Linked DNA regions of Homo sapiens: region 2 is linked to region 1. The links are contacts of gene promoters, found by promoter capture Hi-C in human tissues and cell types (Jung and others, 2019). All regions are on one chromosome and are shown on one strand. The core of a region is centred on a gene start or on the middle of the fragment in contact, and the rest is flanking DNA. Distances in the headings are between cores, read along the strand shown.

What was found. Contacts are between HindIII fragments. The study calls those that stand out against the background at their distance.
Region 2: a contact is called between a fragment that was not itself captured here and the fragment with the promoter of ERN2 in region 1, in 2 of the 25 tissues and cell types used here (H1 embryonic stem cells and lymphoblastoid cells).

Annotation. Positions count from the first base shown.
Region 1 is chr16:23,710,095-23,716,697 of GRCh38, reverse strand. It overlaps ERN2 (endoplasmic reticulum to nucleus signaling 2), which reads left to right and starts at 3,476. Exons shown (of 22, transcript NM_033266.4): 1 at 3,476-3,603; 2 at 5,680-5,785; 3 at 6,149-6,182; 4 at 6,454-6,526. The coding sequence starts at 3,511. The HindIII fragment of the contact is 19,919 bases long and covers 1-6,603 here.
Region 2 is chr16:24,360,160-24,366,237 of GRCh38, reverse strand. CACNG3 (calcium voltage-gated channel auxiliary subunit gamma 3) reads right to left here. Exons shown (of 4, transcript NM_006539.4): 4 at 3,826-4,886. The coding sequence ends at 4,375. Among named protein-coding and RNA genes, the nearest start is that of CACNG3, 110 kb to the right of the region's middle. The HindIII fragment of the contact is 3,769 bases long and covers 1-3,414 here.

The sequences.
Region 1 (6,603 bases), core at 2,227-4,726:
TTTGCTGAGGTAACAAAATTTAGGGCTGACTTGCTTGAATGGGAGAAGGACTGTTGGGGAAAAGGAAACTCTGGAGTGGAAAAAACATGTAAATATTTGAACATAGGATCCCATCATACATACAGGCACAGGGAGAAGAAACCATTGGCGGAAGTAGGACAGAATGTTAACGGGGTGCTGTTTTCAAACGGTGGACCCATGAATGAACTTTTTAAAAAAATTTTATTTATTTATTTTTTATTTTTTTTATTTTTATTTTTGAGTTGGAGTGTTGATCTGTCTCCCAGGCTGGAGTGCAATGGCGTGATCTTGGCTCACTGCAACCTCTGCCTCCCGAGTTCAAGCAATTCTCCTGCCTCAGCCTCCTGTGTAGCTGGGATTACAGGCATGTGCCACTACGCCCTGCTAATGTTTGTATTTTTAGTAGAGACAGGGTTTCACCATGTTGGCCAGGCTGGTCTTGAACTCCTGACCTCAAGTGATTCACCCACCTCAGCCTCCCAAAGTGCTGAGATTACAGGATGAGCCCCTGCACCCAGCTGATTATTATTAATATTTTTGAGATAGTGTCTTGCTCTTTAGCCCAGGCTGGAGTGCAGTGGTGCAGTCACAGCTAACTGCAGCCTCCAGCTCCTAGGCTCAAGTGATCCTCCCACCTCAGCCTCCTGAGTAGCTGGGACTACAGGTGTGAGCCACCACACCTGTCCAGATATTTTCTTATTTAAATTTTTCTGAATTTTACAAAGTTTCTAGAATGTATATTGCTTTTATCATTACACACACACACACACACACACACAATTTATTCCAGTTCATTTGCAGTTTGTATTTTATGCAAGTCAAATTTTTTGCATGAGAAATGCCTGAATCCAAGCATAGTAAACACAATGTACATTTCAAAACAATGCAGAGTGTACAAAATATAGAGCAGAAAGGAGGGTTCATTCACACACTCAATAGCTTGGGTTAGGTTCTACAATGGCAAACAATCACTTTTGTTATAAAGTTAGGAGTACTGGGCCAATTTAGGGGTGTTGGAACAGCTAAGCATGAAAGAGCAACCAAGTAAACTAAAGACTTCATAATGTACATATTTCTTTGTTTTTGTTTTGTTTTGTCTTGTTTTTTATTTATTTATTTATTTTGAGACAAAGTCTCACTCTGTTGCCCAGGCTGGAGTGCAATGGCACGATCATGGCTCACGGCAGCCTCCACCTCCTGGGTTCAAGCAATTCTCCTGCCTCAGTCTCCCAAGTAGCTGGAATTACAGGCATGCGCCATCACGCCCGGCTAATTTTGGTATTTTTAGTAGAGACAGGGTTTCACCATGTTGGCCAGGCTGGTCTCAAACTGCTGACCTCAGGTGATCCACCCACCTCGACCTCCCAAAGTGCTGAGATTACATGCATGAGCCACCGCGCCCAGCCTGTTTTGTTTTTTAGAGACAGGGTCTCACTCTGTTGCCCAGGCTGGAGAGCAGTGGTGCTACCTGCAGCCTGGATCTCCTGGAATCAAGGGATCCTCCTACCTCAGCCTCCCAAGTAGCTGGGGCTACTAGTGCACACCAGCGTGCCTGGCTTATTTTTTATTTTTTGTAGAGACTGAGGTCTTGCTATGTTGCCCAGGCTGCTCTTGAACTTCTGAACCTGGTATGGCTTAGTGTGAAATAACTTTCACAAAAATCCCAACCTGTTTCAACCCAGCCTAAGACAGTGGTGTAGTTCCTTCAGATGGTCAGCTAGGAGGTCCAAGCAGGATAAGGACAAGGAAGGGGCTGACAGAGTGGAAGAGAGACTGAGGGATGAAGGTACCGTGTAGGTCAGGGCACAGGGATAAGGAGAATGAAAGGGTGAAACCGTTGCATGGAGAGGAGGCTGCAATCAGAGAAAGGGACATTGGAACTAAAGTGGTTCTGAGTGTGACAAGGGCCCAGTGCAGTTGTGGCGTGGGGGATAAGGTCTCCAAAGAGGTACACCCACTGAGAGGCTGCAATGCTGGCTAAGCTGTACCTTGGACATTGAAGACACCAAGGAGAGTGGCAGGATTTGTGATGGAGATGAAGGCTAGGGGCCAAGCTACCAAGTTTTCAGTAACTGTGAGGGGATGACCAGGAGGGCCAAGGATGACAAAGAGGACGGGGAGAAGGTGGCAGAGCTGGGCTGCATGACCCTCAAATCAGCAGGGATTTTTTTTTTTTTATTTTTACACAAGGATGAAGGAGACATGAATGAGTTGAAACTTGCAAACAGGGTGGACCTTACCTTCAAGGACCCTGGCAGACCCTCTCTGAACAAAACTGGAGACATCTACCAGGAGCAAGGGTGGTCACGGCCATTAGAAGGTGCCCTTCCATGCGGAGTTGTCTTACATCTAAGGCATAGGAATCTCTAAGCTCTACGAAGACAGGGACCTCATCATCTTGTTCATCAGGCAGGCATGTCATAGCTTATAATAAATGCATATTTATTGGCTGGGCGCGGTGGCTTATGCCTGTAATCCCAGCACTTTGGGAGGACGAGGTGAGCGGATCAACTGAGGTCAGGAGTTTGAGACCAGCCTGGCCAAAGTGGTGAAGCCCCATCTCTACTAAAAATACAGAAATTAGCTGGGCATGTTGGCCCACATTTTTAATCCCAGCTACTCGGGAGGAGGATTGCTTGGACCCAGGATGCAAAGGTTGCAGTTAGCCAAGATAGTGCCATTGCACTCCAGCCTGGGTGACAAGATCGACTCTGTCTCAAAAAATAAATACATGCATATTTATTTATTTATTTTATTTTTGGAGAGTGTGTCTCTCTCTGTCGCCCAGGCTGGAGTGCAATGGCACAGTTATAGCTCACTGCAGCCTTGACTTCCTGGCTCAAGCAATCCTCCCACCTCAGCCTCGCGAGTAGCTGGAACTACAGGTGGACATCACCACACCTGGCCATTTTTTTTTGTAGAGATGGGGTCTCACTATGTTGCTGGTCTCCAACTCCTGGTTTCAAGTGATCCTCCCTCCTAGGCCTCCCAAAGTGCTGGGATTACAGAGGTGAGCCACTTACCTGACCCATAATAAATATTTATTGAACGAACGACTGAATTCACCAATTAATCGCTATTTCCTGATAGCCCACCGGGATCCGCTGGTGCAATGATAAAGAGCGCAGGCTTTGAGATCAGGCGGATCTGTATTGGGACTGCGGCTCTCAGCCTCCGCTTGTACCTGCTGTGCAGTGAGGACTCCAGGAACTGATGATGAACCGGCACGGTCCTCGGCACGTGGCAAGTTCTCCATAAGTGGGCTCAGTAAAATCCCTCTCCCGGGAAAGCGCCCCACCGTGTTTGGTGGGGTGACTGGGACGCGAGGATGCGGCTGGGAGTGTGATGAGAAGGGCGGGGATCGGCGAGGACTCCAGGCTGGGGTTGCAGGCCCAGCCAGGGGCGGAGCCTTCTCCGGGTCGGGCGGGGACAGAGCGCTCCCTTGGAGGCACCCAGGGACCTGGCCAGCCGTGCAGCTGCCCAGGCGCTATGGCGAGTGCGGTCAGGGGGTCGAGGCCGTGGCCCCGGCTGGGGCTCCAGCTCCAGTTCGCGGCGCTGCTGCTCGGGACGCTGAGTCCACAGGTGAGAGCCAGGGACCGACGCCAAGTCCCCAAAGTCTGGTCGCGGGGCGCAGGGGGCGGCGTCGCACTTGGGGCGAGGGCGCGGCGGGGCCACGGGGGCACCTCTCCCTCCCTCACGCCTGGGTGGTCCCAACTCGGCCCCAACGGAGTAAAAGCCTCCTGGGTTTGGGGAGCCGCCAGTTGCCCCCAACAAATACCTAGCTGGGGAGATCTGCCAGCGTGGAAAGGCAAGAGTAGACAGAGCACCCCGCCTCTTCAGCAGGGAGAGGTGTAGTCTGGGGTAGGGGGGCACCTGGGCACGAAAGCCAGGCCTCTTAAAACTTCTGGGAATCCTGGCTTCCTTTGAAAATATGATTGACTTCAGGGCCCTCTGCTGAGAAATGAGCCTGCACGCCCAGTTTTGCAATTTCAGAGGCTTTACAATACGGTCCCCTTACCCATGGCTGCACCCCAGGTTCAGAACCTATGGGATAAATGAGCTGGGAGTGTCAGTATCTGCTCCCACGGTGCCAGGAATAGCAGAGTCTTACAGAAATGCAGCCAGGAGGCAAAAGTCGCCTGGCCTAAGAATCCAGGTGTCCCGCCTAGAACCCCCATGGGGCAAAAGCGATCAGGTAGAGTTAGGCACCTCTCATTCCCGGCTTCCACCTCATGGGTCCACCTCATGGTTGCCAGCTAAGAATGCAAGCCCAGTGTGGCCAGATCGGATGTCTCTGGAAAAATTAGAAATGAGAAAGATTTGAAATCTTGGTTTTTTTGTAGAAATCATCCAATTTTTAAAAAAATTGGCAGCTAATTGAAAAATTTTTAAGCACTAGATGGTCAAACAAAATTCATTTCTGGGCAACCAATCTGCAGCCTCTTCTCCAAACCGTTCTCCCTCCTGCCATGCTGCAGATGACAAAATTGAAGCCCAGAAAGAAAGAGGGGCTAGCAGATAATTTCCTGACCCTCCACTCAACACCAGTGGCCCAGCCCCAAACCTGAGGGTCCTGAAGCAGGATGTGGCCTTTGTAGGGGTGCGGCTGGGCCACCCGGATGTTAGGCCTCCTGCTGGGAGCTCAGCCTCACCCTGTTTGCTCAAGGAGGGACTGGAGCAGGTGAGTGAGCCCAGGATCGCCAGATGTAAGTACGGGTGGCTCCAGCCCCCCTCCCAAGGGCACCCCCCAGCCTTGGGTCAAGGGACCCACTGGAGCCTGGCACCAAAACCAGCTGGGCTGGTTTGGGGAGGCAGAAAGGGGCATCCCAAAAGAGGTAGACATTGTGGCAGAGGAAAAAGAGGCCAGGCATAGGAATCAGAGGGATGGCAACTCAAGTCCTTAGTTTTGCCACTTATTATCTCTGTGGCTTTATGCCAATGACCTAACCAATGACCTAACTTTCCTGAGCCTCAGTCTCCCTCCTCTGTAGAATGGGAAAACTAATAATACCAGTCTTAGAATGGGTGCAGTGGCTCATGCTTGTAATCCCAATACTTTGGGAGGCTGAGGCAGGAGGATCGCTTGAGGCCAGGAGTTCCAGACCAGCCTAGACAACATAGCAAGACCCCATCTCTACAAAAAAATACAAAAATTAGCCAGGTGTGATGACAGACACCCGTAGTCCCAACTACTTGGGAGGCTGAGGTGTGAGGATCAGCTGAGCCCAGGGGTTTGAGGCCACAGTGAGCTATGACTATGCCACTTCATTCCAGCCTGGGCAATAGAGCAAGACCCTGTCTTATATTAAAACAACAAGAACAATAACAAAAAGAAACAAAACAAACAATGAAGTCATTTTGTAAAGGCCTTTAGTCTTCTTTGGAAAACCAGAATGAATTGAGGAAGGAGGTAAGTAATTGGGAATTTAGATACATTGGGAGCCAAAACCTCCCCTCAGAACCCCCCAGCTTCCACTATAACCCTTCTCTAGGGTCAAAGAGATGATGAGTGACACCAGCACGTTCCCCAATCACCCTTCCTCCCCTGCTGCATCCCCATCTGGGGGAAGGGGAGTCATGGCCAGCCCTGCTTGGGACAGGAGCAAAGGGTGGTCCCAGACCCCTCAGAGAGCTGACTTTGTCTCTACCCCCTTGCAGGTTCATACTCTCAGGCCAGAGAACCTCCTGCTGGTGTCCACCTTGGATGGAAGTCTCCACGCACTAAGCAAGCAGACAGGGGACCTGAAGTGGACTCTGAGGGATGGTGAGCAAGAGGTGGTCCCTCCTCCCTCCTTGGGCCCATAGATTGGTGAAGGGATAGTCACTGTGGCATAGAGAATAAGAACATGGGCTCTAGAATCCAATAAGCTGGTATCTACAGGCAGCTTCACTGCTTACCAGCTGTGTGGCCTTGAGAAACCCACCTTACCTCTCTGATCCTCAACATCCTCATCTATAAAATGGGGCAAAGGATATGACCCTATCTGACAGAGTTTTTGGGAAGATGGCATTACATTCACACCAAGTGCTTGACATCACAGTCATGCCATAGCTCAGTGAATATGAGCTGTGCTTTTCAGTGGGGTCTGGAGGAAACTGCTTATGTTCTGTGTCCCTGTCCCTGCAGATCCCGTCATCGAAGGACCAATGTACGTCACAGAGTAAGTGAACCTGGGGCCTTTTAAGGAGGAGGCTTCTGGGAGATGGGGGACTCATAGTTGTCTGGAGAGAGTTTGTATGTGGGGCAGGGACATGTTGGAAGTAAGGGAAGAGAATTGGCTCTGGATGTGATATAGGGGAGGGTCTTGGAGCCCCATGATGTTTCCTACAAGAACAGGCTCCTAGTAGCTGAGAAATTGGAAGGAATTTGGGGCCTTCATGAAACCAGGGGGCAAGAACCCATTGGTCTCCTTGTTTCTCTCTGCTCCACAGAATGGCCTTTCTCTCTGACCCAGCAGATGGCAGCCTGTACATCTTGGGGACCCAAAAACAACAGGGATTAATGGTTTGTATCCCATGGTGTTCGGGAATGGGTGAGAGCCAGGGCTTTCGTCAGCTGGAGCACTGAGAGGTGGAGAGGCA
Region 2 (6,078 bases), core at 281-2,780, 650 kb before region 1:
AACTTGGCAAAAACTCAGTTCCAGGGACTACACATTAAAGCAGCAGCAAAGAGAAACTCAAGGGTTCTGGTCCTGAGATTGGTGGAGGGATCTGCTGGTCCAGAAATTTGGTCCCTCAAATGCAGCTGGGAAAGGGAGCTGCATTTGAGGGAGAAGGAGATGGAGAACTCAGCAATGGAGCAAGAGATTCAAGCAGCATGGCCAGGAATGCTTAGTGAGGGGCTGCTGCATGGGCTTTCAAGTCAGGCAGACGTGGGTTTGTGTATCGACTTTGCTGTCTACTTGTAAGTTTCACCATCTTCACAATGGATTTAACAATCATACCTGCCACAAATATGAGAATTCAATGAGACAAGATGAGTGAAGTTCATGGCACAGTGTCTGACACAGAGGGTGGCGGCTTAGTGAATGGAAATAATCTTCCAGTGGATTTGGATGGCAAGGATAGGCCTGAATCCTGGCTGCAACCCAGAAGTGGTAATATTAATATCTATCTGATGCCAGCCAGCGGGGTTCAACTGAGCAGCTGTCAAGCAAAGGTATCCCGAGGCTCCTGTGCCAAAGCTTTTCAGGGAGCAAACCTAGATGGTGCGGTGGGGAGGCATGTGGGGTACAGAGGGAGTCCTTCCGGGGGTCACGTGGCCATTTCTCTCCTCTAGCACTCTGGCCTTTGCAGAAGGACTTTATTCTTGACTACCAGGGCTGATACCCCGCTAGTTAAGGCGCTGGGGCCTTTCTCTCCATCCCAGATCCACTTCCCCGATGCCCTGTTTTTGCACACTCCCAGTTCCCAGGGTGCCTGGATGCTGCTGCTTCCCCTTCACAGTGTTCTTCACATATTTGCTCCAGTTCTCAGATCCTTCCCTCTCCAAGGGTGGCTGGACCACTTGTCCCCAAGAGTAGGAGGAGATGCATGGCCCCTGAGCAAAGATGACATGCAAATTCGTGAAGCATTCCACAGTTTCAAATAGTTAATGCATTCAGGGCTTAAAACCTAGATGACGGGTTGCTAGGTGCAGCAAACCACCATGCAACATGTATACCTAGGTAACAAACCTACAAGTTCTGCCCTTGTATCCAGAACTTAAAGTAAAATAATAATAAAAAAAAATTACCTGAGTTACCATTCCCAAATATTTTTCACATGCTTCAAAATAAAATCTACCTCATCCTTCATCTTTAAAAAAAAAATTAAAAAAATAAAGTGCTCTGTAAACTTCCATAATAAAAAGAGTAGATGATTTGATATGGTGCATGGCCGCAGTATCACAGAGCGTCAAATCACACAGTGAGAAGGGTATTCCCTTTTGACTTCTCCTTTGCTCCTTCTGAGTAAACCAAGGGAAGCATCTTCTTTTGGTGCCAGAATATCCTTTAACACCTCTCTAACACTTCGGTTATATCCTTTTCACAAAGAACAGGCAGCCGGCAGCCGGCCTTCAGCTGAACTCAGGGAGGTGGAGGTTGCAGTGAGCTAAGCTAGCAACAGCTAAAGTATAGCATGATTGTTTTCGTTTGTATTGTATTTATTTTCCCAGTTACCATTTGATTATGGCAAGGAATTTCAGTTTTCTCTTTATAGTAGTGTTATAAAATTCCTTTTCGAAATATATTTATTAAAGGATTAAAAGCAAGTAGGCTTGAAGAAAGACATTAGGTAAATAGTTGTTGATGTGGGATGTGGCTATAAAAAACTTCCTAGGAGTGGCGCTCAAATGACTGAGCTTGGAAAATGCTGGAATACTGGGGAAGCCACGCAACGTAGGAAGCAGAGGCTTAGATACAAATGTCGCTCTGCTCATTAGCACCCAAGACGCTTACTTTCTTTGAGCCTCTATTTCCTTACCTGCCAAAATGGAGATGATAATTCCTACTACACGTGGTTCTTTGGAGGACTAAATGAGATAATTTAATGTATGTGCGTGTCATTTGCATGCAATGACTCAAGTGTTGAACAAAATGAATTGTCCCTAGGTGCACTTTACAATGAAATTTACTGTGTGAGTGTGGGCAAGGTACTAGTTTCCCAGTACTTCTGTCCCATAGTGGGAATACAATTTGGGCAAGTCATGGTACTTCTCTTTCCTCAGTTTCCTCATTGGTAAAGTGGAGATTTTGGGAGGTATTTTCTTCATGGGATTACTGGAAGGATGAAATGATTTTGTGTGTGTATGGCAGCAGAACACAGCCTGGTACCCACAGTATCAGCTAAGTGTGAGCTCTCAAGCCTGCAACCCTGCCTCCTAGCATGCTGCGGCCCTAAGTGGGAAGGCTCCTCAGAAGTGCGAAGACCTGGGTGTGTGCCAAAAATGCTCAAGGAAGTCACTGTGGGCATAGGTGACATATTTCTCATACTTTTTTCTTTTCTTTTTTCAGACAGGGTCTCACTCTGTCACCCAGGTTGGAGTGCAGTGGCATGATCACGGCTCACTGCAGCCTCCACCTCCCTGAGTTCAGGTGATCCTCCCATCTCAGCCTCTCAAGTAGCTGGGACTACAGGCATGTGCCACCATGCTCACCTAATTTTTGTATTTTTTTGTAGAGCCAGGGTTTCATTGTGTTGCCCAGGCTGGTCTCAAACTACATTTGTCTCAAACTACATTGGCCTCCCAAAGTGTTGGGATTACAGAAGTCAGCCACCATGCCTGGCCAACATATTTCTCATGCTTTCCAACATCAAATATTTAAAATATTCAAATCCTTCCATTCTCTCTTCCCAGAGCCCTCAGAGCCTGTGCAAAGTATACTCTCTCTCTCTCCCTTATATAAAGTAACTTCCATTTGGCTTTTATCTTGCTAAAGTAACCCTTGCTGTGGACTGAACTGTGTCTCCATCCACCTTCCCATTCCCCCAAAATGCATATGTTGAATCCCTAATCCCCAGTGTGATGATATTTGGAGATAGGATCTTTGAGAGATAATTAGGGTTAGATGAGATCATGGGGGTGGGACCGGTGGGACCCTCACTGTGGGATCTGTGGCTTTATGAAAAGAGAAATTGAGAGAGAGAGAGAGAGAAAGAGATTACTTTCTTTCTATCATGTGAGAACACAACAAGAAGGCTGCTGTTTACAAGTCAGGAAGAGGAGCCCTGAGCAGAAACTGAATTACTGACATTTTAATCTTAGACTCCTTAGCCTCCAGAACTTTGAGAAATAAATGTCTGTTGTTTAACCAGTCTTTGATTTTTTTATTTTTAAGAGCTGGGGTCTCAGCTAGACTTGAACTCTTTAACTCCTGGGCTCAAGTGATCCTCCCGCTTCAGCCTCCAAGTCTGTAGTTCCATGAGCTGGGACTACAAGCTCATGCCGCCTCTCCTGGCCCATTTTGATATTTTGTTGTCACAGCAAAAGCAGATCAACATAATGCTTACTCTGCCTAAAATCCACCTGAAACATTGAAAAATATATATCAATTGTTTACAATGTGCTAATCATTTTACACACAGTTTTATTTAAACCTCATAACTCTGTGGAGGAGAGTGCTATTATCATGTTCCATTTTACAGATGAGGAGACTGAGGCTTGAGGCTTAGGTGACTTGCCCAAGGTTCTAGAGCTATTGCATGCCAAAGTTAGATCTTGAAAACCAGCATTCACTCACCCACCCCCAGGTAGCCTCCAGGAATTCAAGTAGAAGGATGCATTGATTTGGACATTTGTGGGAATGCCTTACTAGCTTCCAAAGGTGCAGGGAGATCCTTCCTAGTGGCTCAAGTGTGGATGAGCAAAGTTCAGCTTCCAAGATGGACATGAGCCAGTTTGGAGGCAGGGGAGTGAGTTTGTGTAGGAAACACCCACAAGAAACAAAACACCCCCGGCTCGGTTGGTTACGACAAGGCAAAACCTTTAATAACATGAGTGCTTATTACATTAGCTGCTTCGGGGCTCTGACATCTTTGATTTCTGGTCATGTTTTTCTAACACATAAAGGTGAATGCCTCCCTCAGGGCCACCTGGGCGGTGGTTGGTTTCCTGAGGATTTGTGTGGGTAGACAATGGGGACAACTATGAGCGCGCCTGATGGAGATTCGGAAATCCCCCCTGGCCACCACCTGTGACTTTTAGTAAAGTCCTCTTCCAAGGAGGGAAGAATGTGGAGGTCCTTCCAGTAAAGAAGGAAGAAAGGAAAACATCTGGCACAGATACACAGAGAGAGGAATGACATTAAGGGATTGGCTTGAAAAGTTAGAGAGGATGGAGGGGTTAGGACTTGGAGGGTGAGGGGAAAATGTGGGAGAGGGCTGAGTCCATTTGGTTTCATTCTTTGTAAAAAGTAATACCATCACAAGGACCATGCCATGCAACCTCAGAGACATCTCTGTACACTTCCCCCAAGGCTGTGCTGGGCGTGGGGCAGAGGTCAGAGGTCAGTTCAGACGGGCGTGGTGCGCCTGTTGGCCGGATTATTATGCAGTGACTCTTTGAACTCTTTGGGTGTGGAATTGTGGAACTGTAGAAAAGCGTGGTCCCGGTCGGAGTTGAGGAGGGTCCCCATGGTGATCTTTGAGGGGTCCCGGGAGAGGGTGAACATCGAGATGTCAGTGGAAGGGATGGTGTGGAAGCCTTTGCTGATGGGGGACAGGTCTCGGGATCTGGGCTCGGTGGAGCGAGAACTTGACCGCCTCCGGAATCGATACCTGTAGGGTGGGAGGCGGGCAAAAGTAGATTTCTTCAGGAACTCCGAGTGGGATTTGGCTCGTAACTGCTGATGTTTTTCAATATAGATGTGCACGGCAACCACTCCTACAATTTCTGCGATGATGAAAGAGAAGGCTCCGAAATAAAAGGACCAACCATAGGAGTAACTTTTTTTGGAGTCACGCTGCCCGGGGTCTCCGGCGTTGGCTGATATATAAACTATGATGCCAATGATGTTGCTTAACCCTAAGAGAAGGGGAAAAGAAAAACACGTCCTTTATACACCTCGGAGAGAACTGTCACTTTCCATCTTAAAATATTTATAGAAAATGTGGAGGTAATGGGGAGAGAGGAGAATGGATTATAGCTGGGAAATCCAACCACCTAGTTCTTCTTGCATGGTCTGTCACTTAGGAAATGAAGAATTCTGCTGCTCAGTTCCAGGCAATGTGTATTCAGCTGAAGAATACACCCTACTCCTACAGCAAGTACGGAAGAACTCAGAATGCACTTATTTTTCCCTTAGAAGCAATTCATCTCATCAACACTTAATCTTTGGCACTAAGTCATGAAGATTGTAAAATGAACAAGATACACGCCTCTGCCCTTGAATTCTTTACCATTAGTAGCAAAGACTGACATGTAAATGCAATTACAGGAAAATACAGTAAGGGTGCTAAGGAGACACATAAAAATGGTTCAGGAGGAGAAGGAGAGAGAAAGACTAAGAACCTGGCACTGAAGATGAGGTGACATTTGAGCCGGATCCTGCAAATCAAATAGGGGTGAGCCAGGAGATGAAAGACTGTTGACGATGGCATGTGAGAGAAGGCATTGAGAATGACTTACTAGGGTTCTAACTTGGATGCTTGGGAAGCTGGTGGCATTTTGAGCTCAAATAAGAGGCAGCAGAGAATCCAGGTTTAGATAAAAGAGGAGGTTTGAACACATTAAGTTGGAAGTGCTTATGGAAAATCCAAATGGAGCTGCTCAGTGGAAATGTATGGGTCTGGAGCTACAATTTGGGACAATAAATAAACCCATGGGGAAGAGGTGAGAGCTTACCAAGTCTTTTCATCTGCACAGGATATGATAATGCTTCAGATCAGCTGTTGTTTGAGCACCAGGGCACCAGGACTTGGGGAGCAGGAAGCTGTTACCTCCAACGGGCGAGGCTTGCAGACTTAGCTTCCCAAAGTGCCAATATTGTTGGAAATAGCTGCTTAGCCCACTGGAGAGGAATCAGTTTCCTAGGTAGTGGTCAGTAGGAGCAGGAGGTTTGGAGGGCTGTGCACATCTCTGCCTACCTTTCTCATGTTCTTACTCCGAAGGGGATATGTCTTTTTTTTTGTCCCTTTGTTTCAAGGGCCTCATCCAGGTCATGGTGCCAACAATGACTCATGGAGGTTGTTGGTACACCAGCTGGCATCTCTTTGCC